Regions from separate parts of the Homo sapiens genome. Here region 1 is linked to region 2. The links are contacts of gene promoters, found by promoter capture Hi-C in blood cells and fetal thymus (Javierre and others, 2016). All regions are on one chromosome and are shown on one strand. The core of a region is centred on a gene start or on the middle of the fragment in contact, and the rest is flanking DNA. Distances in the headings are between cores, read along the strand shown.

What was found. Contacts are between HindIII fragments. The CHiCAGO score rates a contact against its expected background, and 5 or more counts as called.
Region 1: the fragment with the promoter of TMEM50B here is called in contact with the fragment with the promoter of CFAP298 in region 2 in 2 of 17 cell types (naive CD8 T cells and fetal thymus); the score reaches 6.3 in naive CD8 T cells.

The regions. Positions count from the first base shown.
Region 1 is chr21:33,475,880-33,482,250 of GRCh38, reverse strand. It overlaps TMEM50B (transmembrane protein 50B), which reads left to right and starts at 2,277. Exons shown (of 7, transcript NM_006134.7): 1 at 2,277-2,413. It also overlaps the pseudogene RPS5P3. The HindIII fragment of the contact is 5,416 bases long and covers 1-5,354 here.
Region 2 is chr21:32,609,583-32,616,177 of GRCh38, reverse strand. It overlaps CFAP298 (cilia and flagella associated protein 298), which reads left to right and starts at 3,801. Exons shown (of 7, transcript NM_021254.4): 1 at 3,801-4,073; 2 at 6,173-6,340. The coding sequence starts at 3,935. It overlaps CFAP298-TCP10L (CFAP298-TCP10L readthrough), which reads left to right and starts at 3,801. Exons shown (of 12, transcript NR_146639.2): 1 at 3,801-4,073; 2 at 6,173-6,340. RefSeq lists enhancers at 3,560-3,669, 4,330-4,379. The HindIII fragment of the contact is 6,059 bases long and covers 745-6,595 here.

The DNA of each region.
Region 1 (6,371 bases), core at 1,028-3,527, 870 kb before region 2:
AGGGCAGCATGTGGTCCATGCTGATCGACAGAGACACTCAGGCTGTGCCCTCAGGATGACCGAGTGGGAGACAGCAGCACCAGCAGTGGCAGAGACCCCTTGACATCAAGCTCTCTGGGAAGTGGAGCACTGATGATATGCAGATCAATGGCATTTCCCTGCAGGATTACACTGCAGTGAAGGAGAAGTATGCCAAGTACCTGCCTCACAGTGCTGGGTGGTATGCAGCCAAATGCTTCCGCAAAGCTCAGTGCCCCATTGTGGAGCCCCTCACTAACTCCATGATGATGCACGGCTGCAACAACAGCAACAAGCTCATGATCATGTGCATCATCAAGCATGCCTTCGATTTCATCCACCTGCTCACAGGCGAGAACCCTCTCCAGGTCCTGGTGAACGCCATCATCAACAGTGGTCCCTGGGAGGACTCCACATGCATTGGGCGAGCAGGGACTGTGAGACAACAGGCTGTGGACATGTCCCCACTGCACTGTGTGAATCAGGTCGTCTGGCTGCTGTGCACAGGCACTCGTGAGGCTGCCTTCTGGAACATCAAGACCATTGCTGAGTGCCTGGCGGATGAGCTCATCAATGCCACCAAGGCCTCCTCCAGCTCCTATGCCATCAACAAGAAGGATGAGCTGGAGTGTGGGGACAAGTCCAACCGCTGATTTTCCTGGCTGCTGCCTAATAAACCAGTCTGCCCTTTGGGATGCCTCCCCCACCCCCCCAAAAAAAGTGATGAGATTTGGAAACTTCTAATTGTCCCCTAATATCTAGTTTTCCTTCCTTAGTACTGAAACCCCATTTTCCAGCCTTCTTTGCAATTTGGTGTAGTCAAGTGACTATTTTACTAGCAGAATGAAAACAAAAATGGTACATGCAACCCCCGCCCCTTTCAAAAGGTTCTTAAAGAGAGGAGAGTGTTCCCTTCTGTATCCTCTCTTCTGGTGGAATGCCAGCATTGTGACATATTTCAAAAGTAAATTATTCAGCACATATTTATTGAACACCTAGATCCTAGCCCATGTATAAGAGCTATAGGAGAACATTATCCAGGATGGCATTTTTGGTGATAATTCCATGATACAAAACCTTTTACTTCATTATGCCTCAAGTAAAATGCTTTTTAGATTTCCACTGATAATAACTCTACTTGGCTGGGCACAGTGGCCCACGCTTGTAATCCCAGCATTTTGGGAGGCAGAGGCGGGTGGATCACCTGAGGTCAGGAGTTCAGGATCAGCCAGGTGAAATCCCGTCTCTACTAAAAATACACAAATTAGCCAAGCATGGTGGTGCGCACCTGTAATCCCAGCTACTCGGAAGGCTGAGGTGGGAGGATTGATTGAGCGTGGGAGGTAAGAGGCTGCAGTGAGCCAAGATCACACCACTGCACTCCACCCTGGACAACAGAGCAAGACCCTGTCTCAAAACAAACAAACAAACCACCCAAAAAACAAAGCTCGACTTTCCCCCAAACAACTAAATGGTTATAGGCATTTCTGTAGGAAATTTAGACGGGGCTTCCAAACGCTGTTAAAGTTATGTTGAAAATCCAAGAGGCTGAAAGATATCTGACTATAAGAAAGACGAAAAAAAAAAAAAAAGACAAAAATCTACGTGAATAGACGGGAGAGCGCCGAGCGAAATCAGAAGACTAGTTGTATTGTGAGGATCACCTCGGGTAACCAGCACTCGCTGGGTAGCCCTGGTTTACTAACTTCAACTTTCTGGGGCTCCATTTCTGAATTGAGGGGATTAGAAAAAGGCATCTCTAAAGACCCTCCGTTCCCGAGAACCCTCCCGGAGCACCTTCCCTACTCTGGGCAGCTCGCAGACAGACAAGACTGATCGGCCATAGGCGAAGGGAAACCCTGGTCCCCCGGGTCTCGAGCTCCGTCCGCACGTAATCTCACGGTACTGCACTTCAAGTCAGCGTGCAGAAACGCAGCAGTGGGAGCCCGGCGGCGGCCGCCCACCGGCAGGGGACAGGAGAGGCCCGTCCCGCTCTGCCCGGAACCGTAGATAGCTGGGTCTGAACTCCGGCTCCGGGAGGCCTGCAGAGCAGCCCACCCCGTCCCTCGGAGCTCGCCCTGCCCCCGGCCGGCCACTTGCTGCACGCCGATTGGTCGCGAGGAGCGCCCGGCGTCCCGCTGCGCCCAGCCAACGCCCTCTCCCCGCCCCCTCGCGTCCCGCCCCGCCCCCGGCCGGCCACTTGCTGCGCTCCGATTGGTCGCTGCGGTGCACACGGCGCCTCGCCCCGCCTCACCGGCGCTCTATCCTCGCGTCTGCTCCCAGCTCCGGGCTCCCGGGGCTGAGGTGGAGCCGCGGGACGCCGGCAGGGTTGTGGCGCAGCAGTCTCCTTCCTGCGCGCGCGCCTGAAGTCGGCGTGGGCGTTTGAGGAAGCTGGGTGAGTCCTGTCTGTGGGTCTCCGGCGCCAGGCAACCGTAGAGGGCTCGCGCCCGCCGCCCGCGCGTAAGGAGGCTCCCTCGTCGGGCCCTGTCCGGCCCGGCCTTCTGGGGGCTGTGGGGCCGTCCAGCCGGGTTTTCCCTGCGTTCGGCGCCGGCCTGCAGACTCGGGCCCGCGGAGCCCCCGCCGCCCCTTCTTGCCCCTGCCCGCGTCCCTTCGGGCCGACCGTGACCGTGGCGCCGCCGCGACCCGCAAGCAGCCCGGGGAGGCTGCCCTGCCGCGCTGTCACGCCGTCAGGTTGCGTTCCTGGGGAGGGCTGGAGAGGCTCCATCTCGTGCCTTTCACCTTCTCGCGCGGCGGGCACGGAGGCGACGGTTTTCGGGACGCCCTGCTGCGGCCGCGACGCCCTCCCGAGGCCGGAGCGAGGGCCCCGGGGCGGCTCCAGCCCTTCTTCGCCCCTCCCGTTTGCCCCGAACCATTGCTAGGAGCCTGTGTTTTCTGCACTTTTCTGATTTCATTCTTACGAGAGTCAAGTACAGAGGCGGGAGGGGAAAGGGAAGGGGAACAACATTCTTTCGAGAATTATAAACCTTGAGCTCCGTTAAATAAGTAGCAGCAGAGCATTGTCACTGGAGCAGTGGTAGTCGCGGGTAGGACCGTTTCGGTTTTTAGCCAATAGGCTGGTTAAAGGTACTTAAAACAGTAAGTTGGAAGGTGCTGAAATTCTAAGGTAAATACGTGACCTTTCAAAACCAAAGCAGTGAGACGGGCTAGGCTGGGCTGCTCCCCGCTGCGCGTGCCTGGGTCGGGGGGTGCGGAGGGGCAGGGGGCGGAGGCCTCGGACGGGACGGGGTGGGAGGGAAGTGGCATCCGCATCGTCTTACATCGCGCTGTAAGACCCGATTTTCTCTTTTCGGAGGATCCCATCTCCCTTCTCAGACTCTTCATCCTACCTGCACTGTGGATCCCTTGACACTTCAGAGGCTCTGAACTCTCAGGCCGGTCACACTTTTTCATCATTTTGTTTCTTGTCTTTTAAACCTGCATGCATTTCAAACGTAGAGCAAACATTAAACTTTTTTTTTAAACTGAAGATAGTGGTGCAAGACTTTGTTATTGAAATGCAAACCAAAAGTTATCTTGAATATTTATCGCGCTGGAAAAGCAGGTTTAATTAGAGTGAGGTGGGGACGTATATTTCTTCTTCCGGAGACACAGCCTTCCCACTCACCACCCCAATCCCTCCTCTCTGTCAACTAGGGTTACAGCAGCCTTACACTGGCTAGTCTTTTCTGAATTCTGAATTCACTTCTGGGGGCCAAGGTAAAGAATTTATCGTATTTTATCCTCATTTTCCTTTTCTGTTTTTTTTGAGACAGAGTCTCCCTCGTTGACCAGGCTACAAGTACAGTGGCCCGATCTCTGCTCACTGCAGCCTGCACCTCTAGGGTTAAAGGGATTTTACAGCCTCAGCCTCCCGAGTAGCTGGGATCACAGGCGCCTGCCACCATGCCTGGCTAATTTTTATATTCTTAGTAGAGAGAGAGTTTCACCATGTTGGCCAGGCTGGTCTTGAACTCCTGACCTCAAGTGATCCGCTTGCCTCGGTCTCTGAAAGTACTGGGATTACAGGTGTGGGCACCGCGCCTGGCCTTTTAAAGTGTATTATTATTATTTTTAAATTTATTTATTTATTTATTTTTTGAGACAGAGTCTTGCTCTGTCTCCCAGGCTGGAGTGCAGTGGCAAGATCTCGGCTCACTGCAAGCTCCACGTCCTGGGTTCACGCCATTCTCCTGCCTCAGCCTCCCTAGTAGTTGGGACTACAGGCGCCCACCACCACGCCCGGCTAATTTTTTGTATTTTTAGTAAAGACGGGTTTTCACCGTGTTAGCCAGGATGGTCTCGATCTCCTGACCTCGTGATCCACCTGCCTCAGCCTCCCAAAGTGCTGGGATTACAGGCGTGAGCCACTGTGCCCGGCCTAAAGTTTATTTTTAACTTATGTATATATATATATAATTTTTGAGGCCGAGTTTTGCTCTTGTTGCCCAGGCTGGAGTGCAATGGCGCTATCGTGGCTCACTGCAACCTCCGCCTCCCAGGTTTAAACGATTCTCCTGTCTCAGCCTCCCAAGTAAACTGGGATTACAGGCGCCCGCCGCCACGCCCAGCTAATTTTTGTATTTTTAGTAGAGACTCGAACTCCTGACCTCAGGTAACCCCCCCCCGCCTCGGCCTCCCAAAGTGCTGGGATTACAGACGTGAGCCACCGTACCTAGCCCGTTTTACTTTTTAAATGATTAAAGTAACATTCAGGTTGTTTAAAACATTTAAACATGACAGAAGAATATCAAGTAAAATTCAGACAGCGCAGAGGTATGTCAAGTTAGAATTCCTTGTTTGTTCACTCTTTACATCCTCAATTCCATTCCCTAGGAGGGTATTATATTATAATATTGCTCGGCAACTGATGATAATATAAGGACACATTTCCTTCATAAGCACGTGGAGACCTACCTCATTTCCTCCCAACCCCACCCCTCACTTTGGAGACCGGGTCTCACTGTGTTGCCCAGGCTGGAGTGCAGTGGTTCCCTCACGGCTTGCTGCAGCCTTGGGCTCAAACGATCCTCCCACCTCAGCCTCCTGAGAAGCTGAGACTATAGGCGAGTGCCACCATGCCTAATTTTTGTAATTTTTGTAGAGACGGGTTTCTCATATTGCCCAGGCTGGTCTTGAATTCCTGAACTCAAGCCATCCACCTGCCTCAGCCTCTCAAAGTGCTGGGATTACAGGTGTGAGCCATCCTGCCCAGCCAACTTGCCTCATTTTCAGAATGTTGCATGGTATACCGTTGTTTGGATGTACCCTAATATACATTTTTTGGTTCCTTATTGATGGACATTTTGACTGTTTCTGGGTTTTAGCCATTAAAAGCTTTGCTTTATGAAAATCTTTTTGTCGTTCTAGGGTAAGTTTCAAGTAGATAATATAAACAGATGATTGTACTTTGATATAATTTTATTTCACAAGGAATCTTTTTAAACTTAAAGTTGTTTTTTTTTTTTTTTTTTTGAGATGGAGTCTCACTCTGTCGCCCAGGCTGGAGTGCAGTGGTGCGATCTCGGCTCACTGCAAGCTCCACCTCCCGGGTTCACACCATTCTCCTGCCTCAGCCTCCCGAGAAGCTGGGACTACAGGCACCCTCCACCACGCCCAGCTAATTTTTTGTGTTTTTAGTAGAGACGGGGTTTCATCGTTTTAGCCAGGATGGTCTCAATCTCCTGACCTCGTGATCCGCTGGCCTCGGCTTCCCAAAGTGCAGGGATTACAGGTGTGAGCCACCACGCCTGATGTTATAACTTAAAAGATTTTATAATTTAAAAGCAGTAGCTAAATCTATTTGAATTAAATGCATTTCTAAGATTCCATATATTCTTTTATTATTTTTTGAGACGGAGTTTTGCTCTTGTTGCCCAAGCTGGAGTGCAATGGCGTGATCTTGGCTCACTGCAACCTCCATCTCCCAGGTTCAAGCAATTCTCCTGCCTCAGCCTCCTGAGTAGCTGGGATTACAGACATGCGCCACCACCTCGGCTAATTTTGTATTCTTAGTAGAGACGGGCTTTTGTCAGGCTGGTCTTGAACTCCCGATCTCAGGGGATCCACCCACCTAGGCCTCCCAAAGTCTTGGGTTTACAGGCATGAGCCACTGTGCCTGGCTCTATATATTCTTTTATATTTAGAGGCTGGAACAGAAAATTTTGAAGACTGTATTAAATAATAGAGGATTTATTACTCTTCTTACCACGAAGTGGTGTTGACCTTAAGGTTATATTGCCTCATTTAATTGGGTTGGCAGAAGTGATAAGAGAGGTCCTTCAGATTAGAGGGGGCTCTGCTGCCCAGGCCGGAGTGCAGTGGTGAGATCTTGGCTCACTGCAACCTCCACCTCC
Region 2 (6,595 bases), core at 2,552-5,051:
AGATGTAATCCAAGGAATCTAATTTTCTTTCGTTGCCTATGCTTTTGGTGTCATATCCCAGAAAGCATTGCCCAATCTGATGTCATGAAAGTGTGGCCAATGTTTTCTTTGAGGCATATTATACTTTTAGCACTTGGGGTTAGGTCTTTGATCCAGTTTGTGTTAATTTTTGCACCTGGTGTGACATAGGGTCCACCTTCATTCTTCTGCATGTGGAAATCAAGTTTCTCCAACACCATTTCTTGAAAAGGCTGCTTTTCCACCAATGAGCTTTCTTAGCACTCATGTTAAAAATCATTTGAACACATAGGTGAGAAGTTATTTCTGGGCTCAAAAACAAACAAACCACAACAAACAACAGATAAGGATACAGCATGGGCCGGGCGTGGTCGCTCACGCCTGTAATCCCAGCACTTTGGGAGGCCAAGGCGGGCGGATCACCTGAAGTCAGGAGATCAAGACCAGCCTGACCGACAGGGAGAAACCCCCGTCTCTACTAAAAATACAACATTAGCTGGGCATGCTGGCGCATGCCTGTAATCCCAGCTACTCAGGAGGTGGAGGCAGGAGAATCACTTGAACCCAGGAGGCAGAGGTTGTGGTGAGCCAAGATTGCACTGTTACACTCCAGTCTGGGCAAGAAGAGCAAAACTCCATCTCAAAACAAAAAACAAAAAACCAGCATGATTTCAAGAGCAGAAGACAAGAGCTTAAAAACCAGCATAATGAGAAAGTTAGGAAGCTTCTTACCAAAGCATCTGGAAATATGCAAGAAATTCTTGTGAACTAAAATTTTCATACTGTACTATCAAACACTAGAACTCACTTACTCCATCTTTCTGTATTTTGGGACCCAATTATCCACTTCTCCTCATTCCCCATCCACCCCTTTTCTTCCTAGCGTCTGCTAACCCCCTTTATACTCTCCACCTTCCTGAGATTCCTTTTGTTTGTAGGTGTGTGATGGAGTCTCTTTCCATTGCCCAGATTGGAGCATACAGGCACAGTCCAGGCTCACTGCAACCTCCACCTCCCGAGTTCAAGCGCTTCTTGGGCCTCAGCCTTCCGAGTAGCTGAGACTACAGGCACGCATCACCACGCCTGGCTAATTGTTTGTGTTTTTAGTAGAGACGGGGTTTCACCATGTTAGCCAGGCAGCTCTCAAACTCCTGGCCTCAAGTAATCCGTGCAACTCGGCCTCCCAAAGTGCTGGGATTACAGGCCTGAGCCACCTGGCCAAGATTTTCTTTTTTGTTCCTACGTATAAGTGAGGACATGTAATATTTGTCATTCTGTGCCTGGCTTATTTCACTTAACATACAGACCTGCAATCTCATCCATTTTTTCTGCAGCGGAGAGGATTTTATTCCTTTTTAGGCTGAATAATACTTCATTGTGTGTGTATACCGCAGTTTCTTAATTGAAACAAATTTCTAAAAAGCAAATATTTAAAAAATGTTTCGGAATGTGAAACTTTAGGGATATTGTGCCCATTTTATTCTTTTCTATTTCCCATTTTATGTATATGCAAGTGTATAATAAAGCAGCAATCAATGTGTGTATAAATCTGTAACTTCAACAAATGTAAAATGAAAATGCTAAGTGGTGGCTGGGCGCGATCGCTCACGCCTGTAATCTCAGCACTTTGGGAGGCTGAATCAGGCGGATCACCTGAGGTCGGGAGTTCAAGACCAGCCTGACCAATATGGAGAAACACTGTCTCTACTAAAAATACAAAAAAAAAAAAAAAAAAAAAAAATTGCCGGGCATGGTAGCGCATGCCTGTAATCCCAGCTACTTGGAAGGCTGAAACAGGAGAATCGCTTGAATACGGGAGGCAGAGGCTGCAGTGAGCCGAGATCATGCCATTACACTCCAGCCTGGGCAGCAAGAGTGAAACTCTGTTAAAAAAAAAAAAAAAAAAAAAAGAAAAGAAAAAAAGAGAAAATATTACTTCCATTATCGCAGGGGGTGCTCACCCCTGATGATATTGTTTTCTAATATCCAGGGAAGGAGAGTATGATATTACTCCCAATATCGCAGGGGGTGTACACTTTTTTGTGATATTGTGTCTAATATCCGGGGAAACAGAGGATGATATTACTCCCAATATCGCAGAGGGTGGACACCCCCCTGGGATATTGTTCCTAGTATCCCAACGGGGAGAGGATGATATTACTCCCCATATCGAAGGAAATGTACACCACCCCTGTGATATTGTTCCTGATATCCAGAGAGGAAAAGAATGATATTACTCCCAACAGCGAAGGAAATGTATACCCGCGCTGTGATATTTTTCCCAGTATCCGGGGGGGAGAGGATCATATTACTTCCAATATCGCAGGGTGTGTACACCCCCTCTGTTATCTTGTTGCTAACATCCAGGTTTGGGGAGGAAAACATTACTCCCAATATCACAGGGGGAGTACACCCCTCCGTGACCTTGTTAGTAATTTCCTGGGTGGAGAGGATGACATTACTCTCAATATCGCAGGGGTGTACACCCCACTGTGATATTTTTCTAAATATTCAGGGCGGGAGACGATAATATTACTCCCAATATCGCAGAAGGTGTACATTCCCTGACCATCAAACATAAGAAGTCCATCAACCTGTTTAGTTTTCTTTAGATCTGTATTTGAATTTGTGTTGTCCGTTTGTTTATTTATTATTTTTGAGACACAGTCTCACTCTGTCGCCAAGGCTGGAGGGTAGTGGCGCGATCTAGGCTCACTGCAACCTCCGCCTCCCGGGTTCAAGCAATTCTCCCACCTCAGGCTCCCTAGTAGCTGGAATTACTGGCACGCGCCACTACGTTCGGCTAATTTTTGTATTTTTAGTAGAGAAGGGGTTTCACCATGTTGGCCAGGCTGCTTTCGAACTCCTGACCTCAGGTGATCCGCCCTCCTCGGCCTCCCTAAGTGTTGGGATTACACGCGTGAGCCACCGCTCCTGGCCTGTCCATTTATTTTTGTTTTCTTTTTGTCACACTAAAATATAAGCTCCATGAGAGCAGTGACTCTGGATCTGTGGGGCCCGGAATAAACAGCGACTGACGCCGACTGCCTTCAGCAAGAGTCCGCTGGAGGATGGCTGGATATTTCTGGGAGGGTCGCTCTGGCAGGGGCCGCTGGAGCTACCCCAGCAACGCCATCCAAATCAACCTGAACGAAGAAGTGCGGACACTCGCCCTGGCCCCTCCGTCCTGAAAAGCTGACCCGCGCAAACAGCAGCGAACAGCAAGACTCAGTTCTGGGTCGCTGCCGCCGAACTTTCCCAGGCCGGAAACAGCGTGGAAACGTTGCCGGAAGTGGAGACTGAAAGCGGCGGAAGGGACGCTGGAATGTGGAGCGGTTGTGGGGCGGCAGCTGCGGAACTGCGCGATTGTGGTTCCCGCCGTATTTCCCGTTCCCCATCTAGTAACTCCCATCTCAGCCCACGTATCTCCCTGAGTGGAAATCTCGGGCCCCAGACCAGTCGATTGGGAGGTCCGCCCTCCCCTTCAGCGACTTGGTCTGTGTTTTGGCAGTTGCCGCGACAACAGTCACTTCCGGGAAGGGGCTCTGCGAATCTCCTTCCGTCGGTCCGCTCAGAATCAGCTGTCCTCTCAGACTGTGTGGGTGGTTTCCCCGGCCGCAGCTCCGTACGGGCTTGGATTGCTGGGCCTCGGTGCACCCCAGCCTCCCCCACTCGGGTTCTGAGCTTGAGCTGGCGGCTCTTTAACTCTGCTTCACTGTTGCTCTTGGCAACATCCACTTCCGGGAGCGAGTGCCGTTTCCCCCGCTCACCGCGGGCTAGGGAGCGTGGGATTCCGGACTGTGAGCGGCTGTTAGTGCGTCGCAGCTGCTGGCGATCCGGCGACCCTCGGCCGGCAGGACCCGCGGGCCACGCAGCCGGGGCCTTCTCAACGCCTCAGTACCTCGGCGGGACCGCCATGGTTCTGCTGCACGTGAAGCGGGGCGACGAGAGCCAGTTCCTGCTGCAGGCGCCTGGGAGTACCGAGCTGGAGGAGCTCACGGTGCAGGTGGCCCGGGTCTATAATGGGCGGCTCAAGGTGCAGCGCCTCTGCTCAGGTGCGGCTCGCGGGTGGGCCCATCCCGGACAGATCGAGAGACCGGCGTGGGATGGAGAAAGAGGGGCAGGGTGGGCCGAGGGGTCAGGTTTGTGAAGATTATTGAAGAGATTTGCAGCAGCCGGGGTTGAAACGGGACACTAGGGTTAACCGGAGATGAATAAGGAACCGGAGAAGATCCGGCCTGTCTGACACCCCGGGCTGGGAGGTGGGCCCAGGTGCCTCTCGGAGCCAGGATTTGGGGTGCTGCGAATAAGTGGAAATGGGCTGGGGAGGGAGGAGGGAGCCGAAAGGCCGGGCTGAACAGCAGACTTAGTGCAATTAATCACGTGTGAGGGGTGAGATGAGAACTAGGTGGGCTTTTAAAAGCTGAATTTACTATTTTTAGTCGCCCAATGTAAAGCAGCGAGCCACCTGGCTTTGGGACGGCCCCTTACAGTTGAGGAAGCCTTGGTGATCTTTCCCCGCCCTGGAAACGGCCTGTTGCGTTGCGGCGCCGTCTCCCTACCCCGCGCAGGTTCCAGGGCACCCGCTTTGCCGCAGAACTTTCCGGCGGTGGAAGGGCCCCCATCTGTGCTGTCCATTGGGCAGCTGCCGGCCACTTGTGGCCGTAGAGCATTTGGAATGTGGCTAGTGCGGCCAGGCAACCGAATTTTACATTTGCATTTTAATTAATTAAATATATATAAATATAAATAAATACCATATATATAGTATATATGAATATAAATAAATTATATATATGTATATATAAATATAAATAAATTATATATATATATATATATATGGTATGTGTGTGTGTGAGAGACAGGGTCTTACTGTTGCCCAGGCTGGAGTGCAGTGGCGCGATCTCTGCTCACTGCAACCTTCGCCTCCCGGGTTCAAGCTATTCTCCTGCCTCAGCCTCCCAAGTATCTGAGATTACAGGCGCCCACCACCACGCCCAGCTAATATTTGTATCTTTAGTGGACACGGGGTTTCATCATGTTGGCCAGGCTGGTCTCGAACGCCTGACCTCAGGTGATCCGCCTGCCTCCGCCTCCCAAAGTGCTAGGATTACAAGTGTGATCCATCGCGTCTGGGTCATTTTAATTTAAATAAATTTAAATCGCCAAGTGGAGCGAGTAGCTGCCGCATTAGACAGCATAGTTTTTGAACTTGACGGGATGATACTTCCTGATGTGGTCTAGGATATTACTGTTTATATAACTATCGTGTATATATAGAATATACAAACGTAACTATTTGCAATAAATAGTATATTCATTTATGTGATTTATTAAATTGCATGAATATGTGATTTATTATGAAATGTATTGATTACATTATATGAATATGTGAGTTTTGCACCGTGGAGAAATTCCTGAGGGTCATGGTTCTTTTCATGAAACTTATGTGTAGTTTCTTAATTGAGGTTCCAACACAAACTCAATATTAAATGTTATTTTTAAGTTAAAGCATTTGAGGAGAAAAGGAATTCATCTTCTTTTCCTATAACGTTATAAATTGGAAATGTGCTGAATGCTAAGAGTCACATTAGTGAACTGAAAATTCATGTATTTATTCTGCACCAGTGCTCAGCCTTCAGAAGACAAGGATGGGGCCGGGCGTGGTGGCTCACACGGGTAATCCTGACACTTTGAGAGGCTGAGGCGGGCGGATCACTTGAGCCTAGGAGTTCTAGACTAGCCTGGGCAACATGGTGAAACCCAGTCTCTACTAAAAATACAAAACGTGGTGACACATGCCTGTTGTCCCAGCTACTCGGGAGGCTGAGGCGTGAGAATCGCTTGAACCCGGGAGGCAATGCTGCAGTGAGCTGAGATCGCTGCAGTGAGCTGAGATCGCGCCACTGCACTCCTGCCTGGGTGACAGAGGGAGACCCTGTCTCAAAGAAAAAAAAGACAAGGATGAATAAGACCAGTACCATGCCCCCGTGTCAAAGGCCCAGGCCAGGTCTGGCACATAGCAAGTGGCATATAAATGTTTGTTCCATAAAATAGTGAGCCAGATGGGCAAGACCCCTGACTCTTTGGAGCTTACATTCCAATGGGGTATGAGGTGTTATGATTGTGATACTGTCTTTCACTTATTTTTAAGAAATGGAAGAATTAGCCGAACATGGCATATTTCTCCCTCCTAATATGCAAGGACTGACCGATGATCAGATTGAAGAATTGAAATTGAAGGATGAATGGGGTGAAAAATGCGTACCCAGCGGAGGTGCAGTGTTTAAAAAGGATGATATTGGACGAAGGAATGGGCAAGGTAAGTGAGGATTTCTCTTCTATGTGCATGCTTGATACAGGCATAAGTATGAAAACAGTTCCTTTTTTTTTTTTTGAGACGGATTCTTGCTCTAGCCCAGGCTGGAGTGCAGTGGCACAATCTCAGCTCACTGCCACCTCTGTCTTCCAGGTTCAAGCGATTCTCCTGCCTCCGCCTCTTGAGTAGCTGGGACTACAGGCATGTGCCACCACACCTGACTAATTTTTGTATTTTTAGTAGAGACGGGGTTTTGCC